Linked DNA regions of Homo sapiens: region 2 is linked to region 1. Evidence: promoter capture Hi-C in 16 types of primary human blood cells and fetal thymus (Javierre and others, 2016). All regions are on one chromosome and are shown on one strand. Each heading gives the region's core, a stretch centred on a gene start or on the middle of the fragment in contact. The rest is flanking DNA. Distances are from core to core; before and after follow the strand shown.

What was found. The method cuts DNA at HindIII sites, captures the fragments that hold promoters and counts their contacts. A CHiCAGO score of 5 or more calls a contact.
Region 2: a contact is called between a fragment that was not itself captured here and the fragment with the promoter of DAGLA in region 1, in 1 of 17 cell types (endothelial precursors). The highest score is 5.2, in endothelial precursors.

What each region holds. Positions count from the first base shown.
Region 1 is chr11:61,678,640-61,682,809 of GRCh38, reverse strand. It overlaps DAGLA (diacylglycerol lipase alpha), which reads right to left and starts at 2,419. Exons shown (of 20, transcript NM_006133.3): 1 at 2,306-2,419. RefSeq lists an enhancer at 1-222. The HindIII fragment of the contact is 3,213 bases long and covers 1,514-4,170 here.
Region 2 is chr11:61,497,241-61,501,410 of GRCh38, reverse strand. LOC105369329 (a long non-coding RNA gene) reads right to left here. Exons shown (of 3, transcript NR_188527.1): 2 at 1,576-1,648. Among named protein-coding and RNA genes, the nearest start is that of MIR4488, 9.3 kb to the left of the region's middle. RefSeq lists a silencer at 2,048-2,248. The HindIII fragment of the contact is 2,023 bases long and covers 1,254-3,276 here.

The sequences.
Region 1 (4,170 bases), core at 1,170-3,669:
GACCTGAGCCACATCGATCTGTGGATGCTCTGACCCACTTCATTTCCTTCAGGCCACAGCCCAAAAGACGCTGATGTGACTGCTCCCCACCCCCGTTCTCAGAACCCAGAGCCAAAGGAAATTCTCCAGAGAAAACACACACACTTCCCAAGTCTTCCTCCCACACAGGTACCCTAGATCTGTCAGCCACAGACACCTCCCAGACCTACCCTGGCAATGAGGCACGTCTGCTGCCCAAGCAAAGTGCTTCCTCCTGCTTGGGCCACTCCTGCAGGACTTCACAGCTGCCGGGGCCATGCTCAGGACTGTCCTCTGGAGACCGGGGGCCTGGTTCCAGCTCAGCAGCTGACTCACAGTGTCAACAGATCCCACTTGCCCCCACCGGGAGCATGTGCGCTCAGGGCCTCTAATTCCCTATGACAGGCCCTCAACCTTCCGGCTCCCTTCCTCCCAATCACATCCCGTGCCACCATTTCCTATGGCTCCTGCCTCCAGCCCTGGTCTCTTTACTTGATGAGACTCTCTGACCTTTGTACAGTCTTTCGCTGTTTGCAAAGTGTTTCCACGTGCACCATTTCCTTTCATTCTTTACTACCAGACCACCATGTGACATGCCTTGATTGGTGAAGTCACCTGCTGAAGGTCACACAGCCAACACTGGAATTAAAGTGATATGGCTCCAAAGGCATCGGACAGTGCTCCGGTTATAGGGAACTCATCAGCATCTCCAAGCACCCACCTTGGCAATTTGGCGACCACCTGCCACCCTACCCTCAACATCATCTTTTTGGACTCATAAGTGCCTTCCCCAGCACAAGCTCAACCCTGTGATTCTTCTACCACTGATCCCACTCCCCCAAGAGATCCACAAAGAACTGAAGATTTCCCCTACACTGTAAGACTTCTCTAGGAGGAGCTGCAAATTGCTTCTCTGTAAAGTAAGGCACTAGGTGATGCTGAGTGAGACCTTCACCCAAAGCTTCCCAAAGGACTGGTGAGAGCAAACACAATCTCAGCGCAGATGGAGGGGTTTTAACATAGGAGCTAAGCAGAGAGGACAGACAGAGCCCTTGGAAAGGAATTTAAGCCTGGGGGTGGGAGTCCCGGTGGCCCCAGCAGATTCCCAGTGGCTGCAGAATCATCTTTCAAGCATACCCCAATCGATCCAATCCTCTGGACCCAAAGGCTCCCCAGCATCAAAGAAGAGAGGCAACTCCCAGATACCCTGGAGTGAACCCATCAACCCAGGGAGAAGGCAGGACCCCGTGACTACAGATAGATGGTGCGCCATACCACTCCCTCACTCGCTGACCCGGGTTACCTCTTGGTCCTGCTTGCTTCTCAGGACATATTCTGGGACACCGATCACCACTGAAAATCATCCACCCCTCCCTTCATTCCCAAAGCTAGATGAAAAGCTAGATGAATGGTTCTCTCTACCTTAGCCCAGGACAACGGTAGTGCCTGGAAGGTCTCTATCTGGGTTACCATCAGGGCCCTTGTGGTAGAAGCTTCTCCTGGCATCTCTTGTTTATGCCCATTATAAAGGACACCAACCTTCTCCCAGCCTTCTGCCCTCCTCAGTCCAGTGTACCCAACAGGCATTAAAACTGGACCCCCATGACAGAGGCAGTGTCCCCTTCATCGCCCGTGAGGAAGGATGGGCATTTACCCTTCCCATTCATCAGGATGGGAGGGCCACGGACTCCCCCCGCGGCAGTGCCGGGTAGCCCCCCGCACCACACCGTGCCAAGGCCCTTTCTCACAGTCATGCCAGGAACTCTAGCCATGCTGAGAACACCAATTCTTCAAGCCCCCAGTGCTATCACCCCAGATCATGTCAAGCCCAAGGCCAGAACCATCCCAACACCCAAGCAATGGCAGCACTTCCTCACACCCATGCTAGCGGCACCACCATGCCGGCACGAGCTGGCCACCTATCCCATAACCAGTCCGAAGGCCGTGCCCATCACCTACCTGTGCAGACAGCTGCACCACCTCACACCTGCGTGGCCACCACCGCACCAAGGTGGAGGCGAGTCTTCTGAGACCCGTTCCAGGAAAACCACGCCGCCTGTGCCGGACCCACGTTGCCCACGCCCGTGCCACGCGTGTCACCATCCCCACGCTGGTGCCAGGGGCTCCACAGACCTCACACCTGCCACGGGCGCGCGTGGCAGCTGCAACTCCGCCCGCCGACCCGTCGGGCCGGCCACCGCGCGCCCTGGACACTGCCCAGCCCGCCGCGCCGCTCGCACCGCGCCCGCGCCCAGGACCGGCCCGCCGCGCCGGAGGCCCCCCTTACCTCCCGCCCGCCGCAGGGCTCGGCCCGCCGCCGCGACCGCCACCTCCATCCTGGGCTCCCCAAGGCCCCGATTCACTAACGCCGCTTCCGCAGGGCGCCGGCGCCGGCGCGAAGGCCGCCTCCGCCCCCCGGGGGACGCTGCGTCCTTTACGTAAACCCCTCTCCGCCGCCAGCGGTGACCATGGCGACGGTCGTGGGGAGGCAGCGCCCCCTGGCGCCAGGGAGGGGAGCGGCGTCGAGGCCAGGGAGAGCCGAGTCTTCCGCGGGCGCCGGCCCTGCGCGTGGGGGCGGTGGGCGCCTGGCTCAGGCTCGGCTGGGGTCCCGTGGGCGGCCGGGAGGGGCTGGACTGGCCGCGATGCGTGCGGGGAAGGGAGCCGCCTGGGTGCCTGCCCCTCCTTTAGGTCCCTCGTGACCAGTTTTAGCGTGGGAGAGGGAAAAAAGGAAGTAGGATCACTGGAGAACTGGTTCATTTGTGGGGAGGAGAGAGACGGGTCCCACCTCCTCGGGGTGACTGAACTCTGCTTGAGAAGTCAGAGCATGGCTAGAGTTCCTGGCGTGACTGTGAGAAAGGGCCTTGGCACGGTGTGGTGCAGGGGTCTACCCGGCACTGCCGTGGGGGGAGTCCGTGGCCCTCCCATCCTGATGAATGGGAAGGGTAAATGCCCATCCTTCCCCACGGGCGACAGAGCCCGTGGGTACCCTGGGTACCCCCTCCTCCCTACCACCCCCCCACCCCCCACCCCTACCCCCGTTCCCAGTGCCCAGCATCGTGCCTGGTCTCCAAAGGGGTTTACTTGGTCAATTTTGAATTTCTGGTAAATGAAGAAAACCGCCCCTCCTGTTCCCCTTCACGCCCTTTCATTCACCGTAAGTCGCTTACACCTCCCTGGGAGCACTGTGCTGAACTGGGGGAGTGGAGCACAGAGAGGAGCAGAAGGCGGGCCCTGACTTCAAGGAGCTCATTCTGCTGGGGAGGAGACGCAGATGGAGGGGGTTTTAACACAGAAGCTAAGCCGAGAGGACAGACAGAGCCCTTGGAAAGGAATTTAAGCCTGGGGATGGGAGTCCAGTCTGCAGGTCGGGATGACTCAGCTGGGTCCCAAAGATCCAGTAAAGATTCATCAGAGACAAAAAGGGGAAGAACGTTTTCTTTCAGGCAAGAGAAGTGCCTCTAAAATGTTTCCTAGGCCCTGTTGCCACCCCCAAAATCACAGTGATCGCGCAGTTCAGTAGAAGTGGGAGCCATAGGTGAACAAGGAGGTGTGGGTAGTGGGGTGCCCGGCTTGAGCAGAAGCCTCGGTCTGAAAATTACGTGGACATTTGGGTTGGAAATGAGACTGTGAGGCCAGGACTGCCTTTTATTGAAGCAGATGGAGCCACTTCTGGAAGGAGTTCTGTGTTACCTGTGATTATTTAGAAAGCAAACTCACGTAGGTAACAAGGAAAATGAGGAGTGGGCGCATATACCCAGTGGGGCACCTCAGGGGATTCAAGGAGGAGTTGAATTCCTCAAGGCTCAGGAAGGGCAGAGATCAGGGGAGGCTTTAAGGGACAACTGTAGCAGTATCAGTTTAGGGATCTTCTTTCTAGATCATTGCCATTAATCAGAATCAAAACTGCCAGATTGGATGTCTCTTGGTTCAAAGTTCCCGATTCCCAGAAAAAAAGAATCTTATTAGTCCAGATCAGGCCACGGTCAATCAGCTATGGCCAGGGCAGAAAGTGCTTTGTGATACAAACATGTCAGTCCACTTTTCCCCGTTGAGAGACACTCCCAGAGGAGGAGAATCATGACCTGAACAGCCAGTCCAAAGACTGTCGGCCAGGGGCGGTGGCTCATGCCTGTAATCCCAGCACTTTGGGAG
Region 2 (4,170 bases), core at 1,016-3,515, 180 kb after region 1:
ATGCCCAGCTAATTTTTGCATTTTTAGTAGAGATGGGGTTTCACCATGTTGACCAGGCTGGTCTCAAACTCCTGACCTCAGGTGATCCACCCTTCTCGGCCTTCCAGAGTGCTGGGATTACAGGAGTGAGCCAATATGCCCATCTTGTCTTTTCTTTATAAACCACCCAGCCTCAGGTATTTCTTTATAGCAACGCAAGAACAGACTAACACACTTCCCTTCCAGGATCTTTCAGAGCACGTCAAGCCCCTGTTATAGATTCTTGAGCTCCCACATTTCTCCTTCAAAGTAATTATTCCAATCACACTAAATAAATAATAACTGTGAATTATTTGCTTGAAGTCTGTTTCCGATGGACTAGGATGTGAGCTCCATGAAGACCAGATCAGAGGGCCAGGCGCGGTGGCTCACGCCTGTAATCCCAGCACTTTGGGAGGCCAAGGCGGGTGGATCATAAGGTCAGGAGTTCGAAACCAGCCTGGCCAACATGGTGAAACCCCGTCTCTACTAAAAATACAAAAATTAGTCAGCCTTGGTGGTGTGCACCTGTAATCCCAGCTACTCGGGAGGCTGAGGCAGGAGAATCGCTTGAACCCAGGAGGTGGAGGTTGCAGTGAGCTGAGATTGTGCCATTGCACTCCAGCCTGGGTGACAGAGTGAGACTCTGTCTCAAAAAAAAAGGAAAAAAAAAACAGATCAGTGCCAAGTGCCAGTGCTGTGTGGAGCCATTATTGGAACCTTCGAGCAAAGGAAAAATCAGTAACACGAATCTCATCTTCGTTTAAAATTTTGATTTTTTTTCATCATGGATTTTTGGCAATAATTTTTACTTTTACAATGATTGCATCAAACTATTACTTAATTATGGAGGTGGGTTTTTTTGGCACTTCTTTAAATATGGTGTCTAGAGCAAGTGCCTTGCCCCCCCTCACCCTAGTCTCAGCTCTGGATCGGGCAAAATCACCCTTTCTCAAAGGATTATCACAAAGCGTCAGTGACAGTGTATGGGAGCTGAATGCTGTCATTTTGAGATACTAACTTATTCCACTGTAGACAATTTCCTTATATCCATTGACTTGCATTCATATGCTAAGTTGGTTTCCTATATTCCCTGCTCTCCAGGGAAACTCAGAACAAAGAGTCAAATCCTTGGCTTTGAGTTGCAAAAGAGGCTTTGAAACCCAGAGCTGAGACTATACCCTTACAACAACCAGTTTTGAAAGAGAAATCTTTTGTGTAGGTCCAAAAAAGCTTGGCTTTGAACTTCGAGAGCAGAGAGCTGATGCCATAAGCCCTGGAGAGGGGAAGGATGCGTCATCGCAGAAGATAGCACCCAAAAGGAGATTAAGGTTCAACCGGCAGGTGGGAGAGAACGGGCAAGCAGCGCCCGGAAACACGGATGCCAGCCCAAAAACCAGTCGTCAGCCCCATCTGGGCAGAGCCTGGGGGTGGCATGAGAAAAAGTATATACCCCCAGGTATCCTGAGGGGGGCACCAGGGCAGGTGGGACCCACCTGCGCTTCCCTTACCAGGTGTGGCCTGAGGATGTAACAGGCCTCCCACAAGTCACTCTACCTGTATGGAGAGGCCTCAGTAGAGTAGACATAGAGGTGAACTCACAAGAGCAGGCATCCAGAAGTTTCCACACCTGCAAGACAGACATGGGTGTAGCCGAGAGATTAGGCTGGGGAAGTCCACATCTTTGCTAAATCCAGTTGTTACTGATAGACCAAGATACACTTTTTTTTTTTTTTTTTTTTTTGGTCACCCAGGCTAGAGAGCAATGGCGCAATCTCGGCTCACTGCAACCTCCACCTCCCGGCTTCAAGTATTCTCCTGCCTGGGCCTCCCAAGTAGCTAGGATTACAGGTGTGTGCCACCATGTCCGGCTAATTTTTGTATTTTTAGTAGAGACAGGGTTTTGCCATGTTGGCCAGGTTGGTCTCAAACTCCTGACCTTAGGTGATCCACCCGCCTCTGCCATCTGAAGTGCTGGGATTACAGGTGTGAGCCACCACGCCCGGCCCCAAGATACACTTTTGAGGTCTTGAGTATTGCTTATGAAGTCCATACTCACATATACCTGCTCTGTCTGGCTATACAAGTCATGCCATGTACAATGGAGCCGTATCTGATTCCTTTTGACACCAGGATCCTATACTGGAGGTAAGTATCTCGAGGAACAGCACTTTTGATCCATGTCCCATAAAGGGTCTTCGCAGGCCAACAGCAAACTCCCTAGGTGTGTAAAAGCACCGAGAGCACCCCGCTTACAGAAGGTACCCCACAAATGCCCTTCTTAGTGATGGTAACTCACGTGGGAAGGACATTTGATTTCTTTGGGCCTCCCAGCATCTGTAGCCCCTGGCTATGTTGGAGAATCCACCTGCCTTACAAAACAGAGCCCACTCTCCTCCCAAGGCAGCTGAAAACGCTGGGAGCTCACTTTCCCGGCATCCCTTGCAAGCGAGGTGGAAGCCTGTGACCCGGAAGTCGCCCCCAAGTACACCCACGTCAGATTCTGAATAGGAAATGAGAACTGCTGAGCAGAAGGGATCACTCAGATCCCTCCTGAGGGCGGTGTGAGGAGCGGCAGCAGGGGCTGTGTCCCAGGAGCAGCGGTGGGGAGGCCTGGGGTCTTTGTGGTCCCAGGGCCATGGGGCGATTTTCTTTGTGCTTCCTGGCTGGGTGGGCTCTAAGTTTTTTGGTTTTTTTTTTTCTTTTTCTTTTTTGAGATGGAGTTTTGCTCTTGTTGCCCAGGCTGGAGTGCAATGGCGCCATCTCGGCTCACCTCAACCTCCACCTCCTGGGTTCAAGCGATTCTCCTGCCTCAGCCTCCTGAGTAGCTGGGATTACAGGCGCCTGCTACCACGGACCCGGCTAATTTTTGTATTTTTAGTAGAGACGGGGTTTCTCCATGTTGGTCAGGCTGGCTCGGAGTCCTGATCTCAGGTGATCCGCCGGCCTCGGCCTTCCAAAGTGCTGGGAGTACAGGCGTGAGCCACCACGACCGGCCGGGCTCTAAGTTTTATTCTCAGGTCCACCTGAAGATTCTGTGAGTGACCAAGTCCTTTTAAGAAATTCCTTTTCTGCTTAAATTAGCCAGCTGTGGTTTTTGTTGCTTGTGATGAACTCTGACTGACAGCCTCCATCGTCAGACCTCATCAGCCTGTGACCACTCAGGGAGTCGCGTGATCATTCTCCCTCTGCCCCTGCTTGCACTGTCCTCCCAGAAGCCCCACACTGTCAAATGCTGTTCTGTGCTCAGGAGAAGCTTTGCCCATGTTCTTCAATGCCAGCCCACCGCCCCCAGTGCCAGAGCCCACCAGGAGAGCATGGCTCTGCGCCAAGGCCGTCTGACCGTAGGGACCACAACCTTGTCATCAGGCTCCATAGGAGGCTGCTTGGCCCAGGGGCTCATATAGCCTTTTCTGAGCACAGCGCCTTCAGCATCTCACCCAAGCTTAGGCCAGGTGAGCGACACACACACCTTCCTGCCCTGGCCCTTTAACTGGGGACTCTAAAGACACACACACACAGGCTCTCCAACCTGAATCACACTCTCACACTCATACACTCACACCCACACACATACACTCACACATATATACACTCACACACACTCATATTCACACTCATACACACTCATACACTCACTCTAACACACACACATTTACACCCAGATATACTCACACACATCTACACACACACATACACACATACACTCATACCCACACGCTCTAACACACACCCACACATCTACACACACACTCACATACACACACTAACACACTCATATACCCACACACGCAGACACACATACACAAATACACACAATCATCTTCACACACATACACACACTCATACACTCCCACTCCCACACACATACACTCACACTCACACTCACCTATATACACTCACACTCATATTCACACACATTCATATACGCACACTCTAACACACTCACACCCACACACACACATACACTCACACATATATACACACATATACTGTCTCATATTCACACTCATACACACTTATATACTCACACTAACGTATACTCACACCCACAAACACATTCACAAAATACACACGCATACACTCTCACACACTCATAATCACACACTCATACACTCATATCCCACACACTTAACACATACCCACACATAT